5 separate regions of the Homo sapiens genome follow, and regions 2, 3, 4 and 5 are each linked to region 1. Evidence: promoter capture Hi-C in 16 types of primary human blood cells and fetal thymus (Javierre and others, 2016). All regions are on one chromosome and are shown on one strand. The core of a region is centred on a gene start or on the middle of the fragment in contact, and the rest is flanking DNA. Distances in the headings are between cores, read along the strand shown.

Region 1 (2,897 bases), core at 159-2,658:
TAAACCAGTGAAACTCCAAGGCCAACTGCTGCAAACCTTGGCTATCAATGAAAGTTGTATCCAAAGTACTAGAACGAACAGTCCCCACTAGAGACATAATGGCGGTTAGCTTCCTGCCAGGCACCTTCTAGCTAGTATCTCTCTCCAGCCACCAAATATCTTAAGACCAAGCGGCCCTTACCTTCTTTCGTCTGCGCATTGGTGATCTGCAGGTCGCAGTCGGCAGCTTTCAGCTTCTCTCTCCCCATAATCTGCTTCTTTAAGTCGCAGAGGGAGATGTGGAGCCCATCAAAGGTGACGGTATCATAGTTGAGTTTAGAGGAAAATTTATAATGCACACAGGACATGGTGCCAAGGGATTCCTAAGGTTCAGCGAGGAGACGTGGACACTCTCAATATACGTATATTTATAAACTTTAAGAGCAAAATATGTACACACAAAACACTCAAAGACACCGAAGGACCCTAAGGCCTCAGATTAAATACCCCCCAACCACAAGCAGGGGTTCGTCAGAACAATAATCCAGAGACCCCCCGATACTCAGAATCACTTCATGGGGGAGGAGGAGGACGAGGACGGGGAAGAGGGGAAATCGAGAATCCGCCAACGGGCACAATGTCACCCGGCTGGGTCCCCCTCGCTCATGCTAAGGGGCCGGCAGAGACGGGGGGATTGGCGGTGCAGTCAGTAGCGGTCAGTCCACACGTTAAGAGTCCGAGCGACCCCACGGGGTCAGGGGTCCATAGCGCGGCCGCACCTCCCGGCGGGTCTCTCTCTCCGTGGATTGGGGTGACCCAGGCCCCGGGAGAAGGTTGAGGGGAGAGGGCCTAGGCCCGGAGTCCACGAGCGGCCTCACGCCTCCTCCTGGCTTCCGGACGACCGGCGTCAGCTTCCCCAGGCCCAGGCCCAGGCCCCCACCGCACACAAACCCCTGGCGCCTGCTCCCCGGAGGCCACGAGCGGCCCCACGGCCTAGGCCGAAAACGCGCGGTCGGCGGAGGAGAGGCCTTCCCGCAGGCCGCCCCCGGCTCCGCCTCCCCCCGCCGCCGCCGCCGCCTCGGACACAAAGCCGGCGCTAGGCCTCGGCGAGGCCTCGGAGCACTTCCTCACCACCCCGGGCCCCAGCCGGCGGCCGGGTGGCTTCGGCGGACCCCGGGGACACCGCCGAGGCTCCCTGACGCTTCTTCTCGCCGGATCCTCCGCGCTTCGCTCGCCTTTCGTTTCCGTCGCCTTGAGGCCCGGAACCGCGAGAACACGCCCGCAAGCTGCTGGGCAGCGGCTAGGGCTTCTCCGGCTCCCTTTTTGTGTTGGCCCCCTGCCGCTCGGGGGCTCTCACCGAGCGGCGGCGACACCTCCAAGCCAGGTACTATGGCGGACGCGGCCTGGCTTCGGACGAGCGCCCCACTGCGGGGTCTCTTAAGCAGGGATTGCACGGGCGGCGCGCGCGAGGCGGGGCTGGCGTGCGCGGATAGGCGGGCCGAGAGGCGGGGCGGCTGACGTCACAAAGCGCACGGCCCGCCCACGTGACCCCGCGCTTTGTGACTCCAAAGCGCGGAAACTGAAAGAGCAGGGACAACGGGAAGAACCATCTGCTTCAAAAGGGAGGGGGGTTGCGCGTCAGGAGGACCGGCTCACAGGGAGGCTCGGTGGGGAGAGCTCGCCTTGCAGGGGCTGCGTGCAGTTTCCACTGCAAAGTGGCTTGCCTAGGGGTGGCCGGCTAACTCCCCCTTCCCCACAGGCCCCGTCAGCTCCTCTAAGCCTCCCAATTTAAGTGAGCATTATGGTTGCTACGCAGAAAACTATGGTTGCTATGCAAGCGCTCCCTAGCTGCTGCTTCCAATAAACTGGCTACCCTATACTCTTGACAAGTGGAAATCGTGGAGCAGCCGCTGCCAAGAACTGATAACAGCCACCAGCACCATACAGATTTATTGAGCTCTTACTATGTGCTAGGCACAGGGCTGATCGCATAACAACATTGCCAGGCTCAGCAGCCACGTTGTCTGGGTTGGATCCCTGGCTGTGGGGGCTCTAGATTTAACCCCTCTGTGCCTGGGTCTCCTTGGCTGTAAAATGCCATTAAAAATAGTACTTGGTTTACTTGGATTAAATAAATGCACATAAATCCATAGTCTAAGACCATGCCGGTGCATTGACGTGGCTCAATGCACCGAAATATTAATAGCTGTAGCTCAATAAATGTCAATTTAACAACAAAAACCCTACGTGGTCAACATGACATTATTTCCGATTTATAGATGATGGAACTGAAGCTAGCAATCATGTACTTTCTGAATTTGCAGAAGGGGATGCCTGCTCAGTGGCAGGGTCCCGATTCCATTCCTAAGCGCAAATGCCAGGAACAGTGACAAGAACCCCCTCAGTAGATTGGAATTTTTTTTTTCCTTTGGGCATGGGGACGTTATTACATTCAGAAAAAATCATAATATAATAAAATTACATTCATAAACGATAGTTATTATCGTTTACAATCCATGTTCCTCATCCTCTCTGAATTTTACAGGCTAGGCTCAGTGAATTTAGGCAACTGAGAATAAGATCCTATAGCCGAGAAGTAGCAGAGTTTCCCAGGGACTTCCTGCAAGCACACTCCAAATTCTTACTGAACTTGATTTAAAATTAATCACCATCCTGCCAGAAAAGCCTTCCTAAGGCCATCTTTTTAAAATAAGATGGCGATCTTTCTCTATCCCTTTAGTCTTTTCTTCCTAGCACTTGCAGATAGTTGACAGTTACACATTTACTTTTTAATTATCTATCTCCCCCAACCCCTACCTTCGGCTGACAATAGGAATCTTATCTTTATATTTGTTTTTGCTGTATCCTCAGCTCTTAGAACATAGTAGGTGCTCAATAAATACGTGCTGAATAACTGG
Region 2 (2,897 bases), core at 233-2,732, 740 kb after region 1:
AACACATCTCCCATCACATCCATGACAGAGTCCCTCTCTGGAAATCAGACTGCCTGTACCCCTGGTGTTTGGCTCTCTCTCCCTCAGAAAACATGGAAGTTTATTTGCACTCAATCGTCTGGGTCGATCCTCTCTCTCTCTCTTTTTTTTTTTTTTTTTTTTTTGTTTTTTGTTTTTTGTTTTTTTGTTTTTAATGTGGTCTTTGCTTTGGTAGACCAAACCTACAGACAATCTCTACAGAGGGAACTGCCAGAAAGTCCACCTCCTGGCCAGGCACAGTGGCTCACACCTGTAATCCCAACACTTTGGGAGGCCGAGGTGGGTGGATCATGAGGTCAGGAGTTCGAGACCAGCCTGGCCAACATGGTGAAATCCCGTCTCTACTAAAAAGACAAAAATTAGCCACGTGTGGTGGCAGACGCCTGTAATCCCAGCTGCTTGGGAGGCTGAGGCAGGAGAATCGCTTTAACCCAGGAGACCGAGGTTGCAGTGAGCCAAGATAGCGCCACTGCACTCTAGCCTGGGGGACAGAGCAAGACTCCGTCAGAAAGAAAGAAAGAAAGATAGAAAGAGAGAAAGAGAGAAAGGAAAGAAGGAAAGAAGGGAAGGGAAGGGAAGGGGGGGGGAGGGGAGGGGAGGGAAGACGGGAGGGGAGGGGAGGGGAGGGGAGGGGAGGGGAGGGGAGGGGAGGGAAGGGAAGGGAAGGGAAGGGAAGGGAAGGGAAGGGAAGGGAAGGGAAAAGTCCACCTCCTGCCTTGTGTGTTATTTTCCTGCCTGTGCACGAAAGCCCAGGTCTGCCCCCTGGTGGAAGCCACCAGACAACCTCAAGGAGGAAATTACTGCACTGCCCAGAAGGCGAAATGCCAGTTTCAGAGAGATACATGCCAATGCTTAGCCTAGAGCCTGGCACAGGCTAAGCACTATATACAGGGGTTCGCTCAAAAAAGAAAATAGATAGATCCTGTTCGTTTAAATGCATTGGCCTTAGGGTCACACCTACCTGAGTTCAAATTCCAGCTCTGCTACCTACGAGTTTTGAAACTTTGACATGTGTTTGGGTTTCTTAGGGCTGCCTTAACAAAGTCACACAAACTGGGTGGTTTTTAAAAAATGAGCTGAGCCAGTCGGTCGCTGTGGTTCACGCCTGTAATCCCAGTACTTTGGGAGGCCAAAGCAGGCCAATCACTTGAGATCGGGAGTTCAAAACCAGCCTGGCCAATGTGGAGAAACTTGATCTCTACTAAAAATACAAAAATTAGCCAGGCGTCGTGGAGGGCACCTGGAATCTCAGCTACTTGAGAGGCTGAGGCAGGAGAATCGCTTGAGCCCAGGAGGCAGAGGTGGCAGTGGGCTGAGATTGCACCACTGCACTCCAGCCTGGGCGACAGAGGGAGACCCCATTTCAAAAAAAAAAAAAAGAGCTAGGCACAGTGGCTCACACCTGTAATCCCAGTGCTTTGGGAATTGGAGGCAGGAGGATCACTTGAGCCCAGGAATTCAAGACCAGCCTGGGCAACATAGCAAGACCCTATCTCTACAAAATAAATAAATAAATAAATAATAAAGTATGTTTCAGTTTTGGAGGCAAGAAATCTGAAATCAAGGTGTCGGCCAGGCCATGCCTTCTCTGAAACCTGCAGGGGACTCCTTTGCTTCTTCCCAGTTTCTGGTGGTTTCCAGCAATCTCTCCATGGCTGCAGATGTATCACTCCAATCTTCCATCTTCACATGGCCTTCTTTCTGTGTCTCTTATGACATCTTCCTCCTATGCCTGTCTATTTTGTGTCCACATCGCCCCTTTTTATAAGCACACCAGTTGTATTGGATTATGGCCCACCTTACTCCTGTACAGCCTCATCTTAACTAATTACCTCAATGACTCTATTTCCAAATTAAGCTCACATCTGGGGTACTGGAGGATAAGAAGGACATCAACATATCTTTTTCTGGGCACACAATGCAATTCAACAGCATAGTCTTTCACCTCCTAAGCCTTCATTTAGTCAAGTGTAAAATGAAAATAATTATAGCCAGCTCATAGGATTGAAATTTTCTGACATAGAAAGACATTTGAGGCCAGGCACGGTGGCTCATACCTGTAATCCCAGCACTTTGGGAGGCCAATGCAGGCAGATCATGAGGTCAGGAGTTTGAGACCAGCCTGGTCAACATGGCAAAAGCCAGTCTCTACTAAAAATACAAAAATTAGCAGGGTGCCGTGGTACACACCTGTAGTCCCAGCTACTTGGGAGGCTGAGGCATGAGAACCGCTTGAGCCCAGGAGGCGGAGGTTGCAGTGAGCCAAGATTGCACCACTGCACTCCAGCCTGGAAGACAGAACGAGACTCCGTCTCAAAAAAAAAAAAAAAAAAAAAAAAAAGACATTTGAGATATGTCACTCAGACTAATAGGAAGTTTCAGAGTAAAATACATGCCATGAAATGCCAGTACAGAGTCCATTTCCCAATGTGTTTGGATATGGACAAAAAATTTCTGGAAGGGTATACAAGAAATGTATGAGTGTTATCTCTGGGGAATTGCAGCGGTGAGATTGGAGGGAAAGGGGAGGAAGGGCTTGGTCTTTCCCCTTAGGCCCCTTTGGTTCTGCTTGAATTGCTTTTACAGAGACACATTTTATTTTCATAATTTAATAAAAAGAAAAGGAAATAAACCACAATAACGTCTGCCTCATTGGGTTGTTGTGAGGATGAAATAAATGTGGAATGGAAGCCACGCAGCACAATAAGTGCTTGGTGAGTGGTGACGGTGGGCATTCTCATGGCAATTTTCACTGAAACATCAATTTTAGTAGAGAGAAACTGGAAACAACCTAATTGTCCAACTAATGGAAAAGATTTATTCAGGAAATTATAGTACATGCACTTCATATATTAGTA
Region 3 (2,897 bases), core at 398-2,897, 700 kb after region 1:
GGGTAGGTGAACTTCCTTGGCATGTAAGACTCCCAAGCGCCATCGGCCCCAGTCACACACACACCCCTTGAAAGGACCCTGTTGTGGTGAAGAATTCCTAGCCTGGGAGGTCACTCCGACCAACGTGATTCTTTCACTCTCTGCCTAACTCAGTAACTTCTTCTATAAAGTATTTTTCACCCTCTCTTCCCACAAATAGCATCCCCAAAGCCCCAGAGCCTACCTTGGCACTGGAATCCCTGCTTCCCGAAGCCCCTGCAAAAGCAGAAGGAGGTGTATGTCAGGCAGCCCGGGGGGCCCAGCCTCCAGCTAGTTACCCACAGAGTCACCCGCCTTCCTCCCTGCCTCTGTACCCCAGGTGCAAACTCCCAGCCACAGGCGGGTGCCCAAGAGTCTTCCGCCTTTGTGGGGGTAGGTGGGAGCTCGGCTGTAACCCCCATCTGCCTTCACTCCTGCAGAAGAGAGGAGGCTGCGACCACCAGGTGGCGGGATAGTGGGGAGCGTTTCCGTCGGGGTAGGGGCTGAAGGCAGGCGACAGATGTACCCATAGATGCCCCGAGCACCCTCGGGAAAAGAGAAGAGATAAAGACGCATTCAGAGGGAGGGCGAGAGTGACCCCGCGGCGGTGGTGTCCTCTGGGAGGGGGACTGGGAAGGAGGAAAGGATGCCCCACTACTGGAGGGACTGGGGAAGAAAGGGGCCCGCAGTGATGTGACCGAGGAGTGGAAAGGGGAACCCAGGCCCTCGGGGAGGGGCAATGGGAGATAACACAGGGCGCTGCCCGGAGGCACAGAGGAGTGAGAAAGGATGTCCCATGCCCGCAGGGAGATAGAGAAGGACACCCAGGGCGCCGCCCCCCCCGGAAACAAGGGGTGGGGGGCGAGGGCTCCTCGCGCCCGGAAGCAGGCGGAGAGATAGGGAACCCCGGGTCGGAGAGCACCCGAGGCGCTGCCCTCCAGGGCAGGCACAGACCCCGCGCGCTCCTAGTCAGGTGGAGCAAAGGCTCCCGCGACGCCGCCCCTGGGCGCTCTAGAGGCGCCTGAGAGCAGGAGAGGGCAGGAGGCGCCCCGCGGCGGCCCGTCTGGGACCAGGGTGGGGACAGGGCAACGGCAGGACTGTCCATCCGGGAGTCCCGGGCAGCAGGGTCCGGAGCCGGGAGTCCGGAGACGCGGGGTCCCAGGGTGCGGAGGGCGCGGAGGGCGCAGAGGGCGCGGAGAGGGGGTCCCTGGCGCGGCGCTGCCCTCGGGGGCCCGGGAAGGTGCCCTGCGCGCGCGCGCTCACCAGATGAAGTCGGTGCAGTGGCTGCAGAAGGTGGGCTGCTTGAAGAAGCGGGCGGTGAATTTGTGGTTCTTGACCTCATGCACGTTCTTCTGCCGGAGGGCGCCTTTGCGGGCGAAGCGCACGGTGCTCTCCTCGCCCTCGCTCGGCGGCGGCCCCGCAGCCGGGTCAGCCATCTTGCGCGCGGGGAGCCGGAGCCCGAGAGGTGCCGGCCCCGGGGCCGCGGGACCGCGGGCTGCGGGCCGGGGAGGCGCGGGAGGCGGCGGCCGCTGCTGCACCCGGGGCCGCGGGCGCTTCCCCTGCGCCGGCTCTGGCGGCCGCGGCGCGCGGAGCCGGGGCTGTCACTCGCCCAGCTGCTGCCGCTCGTCCAGCTGCGCTTGGCACCGCTGGCCCCAGCTGCGGGGGAGGGAGGCGGAGCCCCGGGCCAGCCCCGCCCTCCTCATTTGCATCGCGCCCAGGCCCCGCCCAGCGCTGCCAGCTGCTTTACATATCGGCGCCCGGGCTACCGCGGGCCTCGCGGCTAAGCGTGCACAGCCGCAGCTCTGCAGCGCCGGGACCGCAGCCCGGGGTCGTCGGACCCGAGCCTCGCCCCCCACCCCACCCCGTCCTCGGCCCCCGGGGCTGCGTTCAGGAGATGTGCCCAGGGGAGGAGCGAGAGTGGAAAGACCTACGGGGCGAAGGGGAGCGGGTGGAAGGGGTGGGGCGCAGCGAATTCCACCCCGGCCTCTGCGGAGACTGGTACCCATCCACCCCCATCCATCCCATTGGTCATTCTGCACGCGTCTCCTGGAGGGATGGGCTCCCGCTGTCACTCATTCGGAAAGGCTTGTGGCCGCACACACTTACACACACATACACACACACGTTCTGCAGAGGTAGGGGAGGAGCGATCTTTATTTTATATGTCTCTAACTCCACCACAGAGAAGATTCTTGGCTTTGCTTGCCTCCTGCACGTTTGGAAGAGAACTCCCTACCTTCTGTCCATCCCCTCTGCAAAACGACTCCGTTTCCCCAACTGTAACATAGGGCTAATAGTGTGGGGAGGAAGGATTTCAGTAGATCAATATTTTTCCAAATTTCATTCATTTCTGACTCGTCTTCACAAATTCTGGTCGTATTTGTGCACCCTCTGGGGGAAAAAAAGCCTATCTCTTTTGGTCTGAGTTTGAACAGCAAGAGGTATCTACATTATTAAAATATCTCCAGGTGCCGTCATCTGTCCTAAGCATCTTCGACTGAAGTCATCTTTTATTTGTTAAGAGAGGAAATTAATAAATGCTAGAGGGGTGTTAAAGACATTACTATCCAACCAGGACTCTCTCCTTGATGTGATCTGAAGGTAACTGAAAGGGTAATAATTGTCTACAATGTGTAATTCAATGTTATTTAGCGCCCTGTTCATGCACAAGGCCTAAAGATACCCACTGCCACCATGTCCCCCACTCTGGGAACGCAGAGCTTCATTAGGCTGTGAGCTCCTTCACCAGACCTAGGCTCTGTGAGAGCAGGGGGGCTGTTCACCACCATGTCGCCCAGCACCAAGCTCAGTGCCTGACACCTCCCAAGACCCCAGTAAATATTGGTTGATTGAGTGAGGGCATGGATGAACAAGTGAAT
Region 4 (2,897 bases), core at 114-2,613, 570 kb before region 1:
CAATAGCGTGATCTTGGCTCACTGCAACCTCTGCCTCCCGGGTTCAAATGATTCTCCGGCCTCAGCCTCCCGAGTAGCTGGGATTACAGGCGCCCGCCACCACACCCAGCTAATATTTGTATTTTTAGTAGAGATGGGGTTTCACCATGTTGGCCAGGATGGTCTCGAACTCCTGACCTCGTGATCTGCCCACCTCGGCCTCCCAAAGTGCTGGGATTACAGGCGTGAACCACCGCGCCCAAACTCTTCTCACCTTAAACATCACTGACAAAATTACAAACTCTAATGGCACTGCCGTATTTGTCAGCACTCAACACAAAAAAATCATAATTATATATTTCATAGGTAATTATTTGCTTCCTGTCTCTCTTTTCCAACAAAGCTGTGAGTTCCAGTATGTCTGACACCATGTCTGTCTTGTTCTTGGTGTATTTCCACCATCGAATTCCTACTAACCACTGCAAAGTAAAGGCCTGGCACAAAGTAAGGTCTCAAAAAATTTTGTTGAATGAAAGAATAAATGGTGGACATTCAAGCCTCAAGCTTTCTCTTTCTCTGACACGTACCTCTGCTGGCTACGCCCCCATCCCCACCACCACACCCTTAACAGTGGAGACTTAGTGCGGTACTGGCTCTGCAAAGAGATATTACTTGGCTCTGGGTGGGTTATTTCCCCTCGTCATCCTGAGTTTCAGGTGCACAACAGGGATCACACCAACCCCCTAAAGAATGCAACCTACAAAAGAGAGAGAACCTACACCTCTCATCCTCGTAACCCATCGAGGCTGGAGCTACTATTTGCTTCATGTCTGTCTTTCCAGCAGCGTTTAGCTCCAAGAAGCCCAAGGCCTCGTCTGTCTGGCTCAGGGGCCTGCTCCCATCGACGATACCCAGGCTGGCCCCCTGCCTGGCTCACAGCAAAAGCTCAGAAACGATTCGTTAAATAAATGAAGCCCTGCTCCGTGCACTTCACAGGTGGGAAGCGAGGGTCGTGCGAGGCGGGGGCTGCATCCCTGCCAGCCTTGAGCGTATTCTTCAGATGCAGGCCCACCTCCCACCTAGGCCCGCGCCCCAGATGCCGGCCCCGAACCCCGCGCCCGACAGGCACCTCTTGCACAGGGAAGCATCTTCGCAGGTGCCGCGCACGCCCTCGTCGTCTGCGTCGCAGCTCGAGGTGGAACAGCAGGAGGTGATAGAGGATTCCCTCTGCCTAGTGGCCATGGGCGTGGAGGTTCCTGGGAGCTGTGTCCGCCAGGGACATGGAAGCGGGGTCGACGGGCGGCGGGGGACGGCGCGAGCCACAGGGAGAAAGCAACAGAAGAGGGTAGGGCCCTACCTGGCTCAGCTGGCGCGGCTCAGTGACGCCGCCCACGCCGGCTACCCCAGCAACCTCTCCGCTTATTGGCTCCTCTTCCGAGTCGCTCATTGAGCAATTCTCCTGCCCGCTCAGCCTACGAAGTTGCTCATTGGATAATTATTTTGGCACCGCCCACATAACCCGGAAATTTGACGATAGGAAAAAGAAACTAAACAGTAGGAGAGTATCGCAATCCTTTCTGGGAAGCGTAGTCTTAGGTGTCTGGAGAAGTCGCCCGGTTTCTGCTTGCTGGTCGCGAAATTTTATAGCTATAATTAACTCAGGGCGGAACAGCTAGCAGAATCCTCAGCGTTCGGGCAAAGGGCAGAGAATCCAGCCAGAAGCAACATGTGTAAGTTGTTACATTCAGTCCGGGCTCAGTGTCATTCAATTTTACAAAATTTTGTTGTGTGCTGACTCTGCCAGCGACTGTGCTGAGGGCTTTGCCCCCAAAATTGCCTTCGAAATGTAGTGAGGGGGGCGGGCGTAGTGGCTCACTCCTGTAATCCCACCACTGTGGGAAGCCGAGGCGGGCCGATCACCTGAGGTCAGGAGTTCGAGACCAGCCTGGCCAACATGGTGAAACACCGTTGTTACTAAAAGTACAAAAATTAGCCGGGCGTGGTGGCGGCCGCCTTAGTCCTGGCTACTCAGGAGGCTGAGGCAGGAGAATCGCTTGAACCCGGGAGGCGGAGGTTGCAGTAAGCCCATGTGGCGCCACTGCATTCCGTCCTGAGCGACAGAGCGAGACTCCGTCTCAAAAAAATAAATAAACAAATAAATAAAAGAAAGAAAGAAAAGAAATGTAGTGAGGGAAGTAGTGTGTGGAAAAGTAATACAATAGGAAGCCATGTAGCAGCGATCATAAATGAACTAGAGCTACCAGGTAGCAGCATCAATGGCTGAATCTCAGAAACACGATGTTCAGTGAAAGAAGGAAGTCTAACAACACTTTTGTAAAGTTCAAACCAAGTAAAACTAATGTTGTTTAGAGAAACGTACATATATGGTAAAATACTGTACAGAGAAGGCAAGACATGAGAAAAAAAAATAAAAAAGAATCAGGATATTGGTGATCTTTAGGGAGCCGGGAGGGTAGCACACAAGAGGGGGAGGGAGAGGCAGGGAAGGAGCACATAGACACATCCTCAGTTTCTCACGTGGGAGTGGGTTCACGTGTGTCTGTTTCATTATGAGGCATATTCAAGATGTTTTGGATTTATTTTGTACTAAATCTAGTACAAAATATATGTATAAATTCAAGATGTACTGGGGAAGTCGCCTGGTTTCTTGCTGGTGATGAAATTTTATAGCTATAATTAACTCAGGGCAGAACAACTAGCAGAATCCTCAGTGTTCGGGCGATTGGCAGAGAATCCAGCCAGAAGCAACCCTTGTAAGTTGTATATGTATAATAATGTTTAATATACATTATAAATTAAAAATGTCTTTGTATATTCCATTTTGTTATCTGTCAGTTGTTGGAAGCAGGAAACAGATATACTTTAAGAACTTTGAATTGCACTCATTTTTTTAAAAA
Region 5 (2,897 bases), core at 115-2,614, 530 kb before region 1:
CTGATGGGACCTCACAAGGAGATACAGTCCATTAACGTTCGTCAGGGTGGGAAGAAGTGGCAACACCTACTGAGATAACAAAACTCATTAGCTGAAGGGCAAGCTGGCCAGCAACTGGCAGTGATGTTCTCAATAGTCCTGGCCGCCTTATAAAACCAGCTACTTAGGCCGGGCACGGTGGCTCACTCCTGTAATCCCAGCACTTTGGGAGGCTGAAGTGGGTGGATCACAAGGTCTAGGAGTTCAAGACCAACCTGGCCAGTATGGTGAAACCCCGTCTCTACTAAAAATACAAAAATTAGCCTGGTGTGGTGGTGGGCGCCTGTAGTCCTAGCTACTTGGGAGGCTGGGGCAGGAGAATCGCTTGAACCCGGGAGGAGGAGGTTGCAGTGAGCTGAGATCGCGCCACTGCACTCCAGCCCGGGAGACAGAGCAAGACTCCGTCTCTAAATAAATAAATAAACAAACAAACAAAACCAGCTACTTAGTAAAGGAGCAGCTAGTTAAAGCTAACCAGGGGTCCTCAATCAAGGATGGGCCACACTGTTTGTGATGCCAATCGTTTTATTCACACTCTTTACTCCATTGATGAAAGAGGGATTCCTTCCCCCCACGCTCCTGCCCCCGCCCCTGTCCCCACCCCCAGAGATACGGGGATGGCCGAACACACAACACTTGATGCAGGACGGATGCAATCAACAGCAGCTGACTGGTCACAGATACTCCAGTCCAGGGGAGAAGGACCCTGCACACTATGCAGGGCAATGTGGAGGCTACACTCCGGAACACGGTAACAAGGAGGGGCTGCTGGAGGCAGGCTTTGTAGTAACAAAAGTGCAGAGTGAGCCCTGGTTCCCACGGGAGGGTGTGACTGGCTTGTCTGAATAATTCGTCCTTGAGCTGGCAGGGAACTGAAGCCTACTGTTTGGGGATAAGCAGGCTCTGTGTCTGATCCCTAAAATAAGGAGAGTGTTTAGCCAGAGAATTTCATCTGCGGAAGCAGACAGGGAGCGAGGCTTGGAGTTCAGCCATTTGAGGCCCTCTTGATTTAAATGGATGTAAAGACAGAATTTGATATGAATCCTAATTTCAGGCCTTACACCACAATACACTATTAAAAAGTAAGTTTTCCGAGAACTAGTCATTGAGTTCAGTGTCACAAGATTTTAAATAAACATTCTAAACTCAACTGTGGCATAGTGGTTCACGCCTGTAATCCCAGCACTTTGGGAGGCCAAGATGGGAGGATTGCTTGAGCCAGAGGTTCGAGACCAGCCTGGGTAAGATGGTAAGGCCCTATCTCTACAAAAAAAATATATAAATTAGCCAGGTATGGTGATGAGAGCCTGTGGTCCCAGTTCCATGGGAGGCTGAGGTGGGAGGACCACTTGAGGCTAGGAGGTCAAGGCTGCATTGAGCCATATTCACGCTGCTGGGCTCCAGCCTGGGTGACAGAGTGAGACCTCATCTCAAAAAATAAAGAAAGAAGATAATTTCACCTATTGCTTAACATAGAAAATGGGAGCCCTCAGAATGAGACTCCCTTAACTTCCCCAAGAAACTTAACCATCCTTTTTTACTCTTACAGTTGTGAATGTCCTCCAGTAAAGACCACATGAAACACTTTGTAGTTAAGCAAGTTGGGTTTATTACTTGTTGCAAGGAGGGAAGACTCACACCATGAGGAGCCTATCAGTAAGAGGATGTTAGACCTTTAGGATCTGGGCTTTGGCTGGGTGATTTGGGGGAGGGTCCAGGGGTTTGCTCTGGATCGAGTGCTGATAGGAGGTAGGAAAATTCTATCATCCGGTAGCGGTATCTTTTCTAGAAAGAGGTTTGGCTGGAGTAGGGCTAAAGCTACAATGTGTAAAGAAGCCACAGTCACTCCTATCAGCTGGGAGAAGGGAATGTCTGGTATTCTGTGGGTGGCACAGTGACCTTGCTTTTGTCCTTACACAGAATGATGACGTGGTCTCGTGTCATCTCCTATCATCACCACTGCAGAGTGTCCTTGTGTGAGTGGTCTGCATGATTGTTTATGTCCAATAGGAGAACAACATGGCCTTGTTGTGGGCACCAGCCAGCTTCCAAAAACATACGGCCTGGCTCACAGCACCAGGCAAGCTCCTAGAAGTCAGTTTTGCTTTTCTGTTTTTCACAGTGGAGGAGGTGAGCCTTAAAGAGATCGATAAGGGTTTGCCCGGCAGAAGAAAACAGCGTGAGCAGAGGCATGGAGTCTGCAGTAGAACTGCATGTTAGGTGAACCTGATATAGGGTCAGGAGGGGTAGCAGGAGAGATTTCTGGACAGGCTTTCACACAGTGAATCGTGGAAGCTCCCCCAAATCACCCAGCCAAAGCCCAAATTATAAAGATCTAACATCCTCTTACTGATATGTTCCTCATGGTGTGAGTCTTCCCTCCTTGCAACAAGTAATAAACCAAACTTGCTTGACTACAGAGTGTTTCTGGTGGTCGTTACTGGAGGACATTCACAACTGTAACAGTGAAAAAGGATGGTTAAGTTTCTTGGGGGAAGTTAAGGGAGTCTCATTCTGAGGGCTCCCATTTTCTATGTTAAGCAATAGGTGAAATTATCTTATTTATTTTTTGAGTACAAGTTTTATCCTGAGGGATTTGAAGTGAGGAACTGACATGACCTGGGTTTGCATTTCAGAAAAATCCCCAGCAGCTGCGTGGGAGAAGGCTTGGTGACAAAGGGGAAGCCTCCTTTTCTTTCCCACACCCACAGCCCCTGCACCTGCTGTCCTCGCTCATCCGATCTATTGCAACACATCCTTATTCTACCTTTGGCCAGGGTGATTTTTCAGAATCACAGATCTTTTCCTGTAACTTCCTTAAAACCTTTTGATTCCCAATCAATTACCAGTGAAAAATC

What was found. The method cuts DNA at HindIII sites, captures the fragments that hold promoters and counts their contacts. A CHiCAGO score of 5 or more calls a contact.
Region 2: a fragment that was not itself captured here is called in contact with the fragment with the promoter of RBBP6 in region 1 in 1 of 17 cell types (neutrophils); the score reaches 5.7 in neutrophils.
Region 3: a contact is called between the fragment with the promoter of PRKCB here and the fragment with the promoter of RBBP6 in region 1, in 1 of 17 cell types (M1 macrophages). The highest score is 5.1, in M1 macrophages.
Region 4: a contact is called between the fragment with the promoter of LCMT1 here and the fragment with the promoter of RBBP6 in region 1, in 5 of 17 cell types (naive CD4 T cells, total CD4 T cells, monocytes and 2 more). The highest score is 6.5, in naive CD4 T cells.
Region 5: a contact is called between a fragment that was not itself captured here and the fragment with the promoter of RBBP6 in region 1, in 1 of 17 cell types (neutrophils). The highest score is 5.1, in neutrophils.

The regions. Positions count from the first base shown.
Region 1 is chr16:24,538,077-24,540,973 of GRCh38, reverse strand. RBBP6 (RB binding protein 6, ubiquitin ligase) reads right to left here and starts at 1,408. Exons shown (of 18, transcript NM_006910.5): 1 at 182-1,408. The coding sequence starts at 347. RefSeq lists enhancers at 1-750, 751-1,745 and silencers at 962-1,141, 1,412-1,461. The HindIII fragment of the contact is 3,955 bases long and covers 1-2,897 here.
Region 2 is chr16:23,799,507-23,802,403 of GRCh38, reverse strand. No RefSeq gene overlaps it. Among named protein-coding and RNA genes, the nearest start is that of PRKCB, 35 kb to the left of the region's middle. The HindIII fragment of the contact is 3,056 bases long and covers 1-2,897 here.
Region 3 is chr16:23,834,733-23,837,629 of GRCh38, reverse strand. It overlaps PRKCB (protein kinase C beta), which reads right to left and starts at 1,647. Exons shown (of 17, transcript NM_002738.7): 1 at 1,282-1,647; 2 at 224-255. The coding sequence starts at 1,454. RefSeq lists enhancers at 542-681, 945-1,490, 1,491-2,038 and silencers at 992-1,071, 1,402-1,481, 1,512-2,151. The HindIII fragment of the contact is 10,190 bases long and covers 1-2,897 here.
Region 4 is chr16:25,110,208-25,113,104 of GRCh38, reverse strand. LCMT1 (leucine carboxyl methyltransferase 1) reads right to left here and starts at 1,363. Exons shown (of 11, transcript NM_016309.3): 1 at 1,109-1,363. The coding sequence starts at 1,221. It overlaps LCMT1-AS1 (LCMT1 antisense RNA 1), which reads left to right and starts at 1,550. Exons shown (of 3, transcript NR_120306.1): 1 at 1,550-1,709. RefSeq lists enhancers at 1,056-1,215, 1,306-1,635, 1,413-1,940. The HindIII fragment of the contact is 2,890 bases long and covers 546-2,897 here.
Region 5 is chr16:25,063,137-25,066,033 of GRCh38, reverse strand. No RefSeq gene overlaps it. Among named protein-coding and RNA genes, the nearest start is that of LINC02175, 2.3 kb to the left of the region's middle. The HindIII fragment of the contact is 7,036 bases long and covers 1-2,897 here.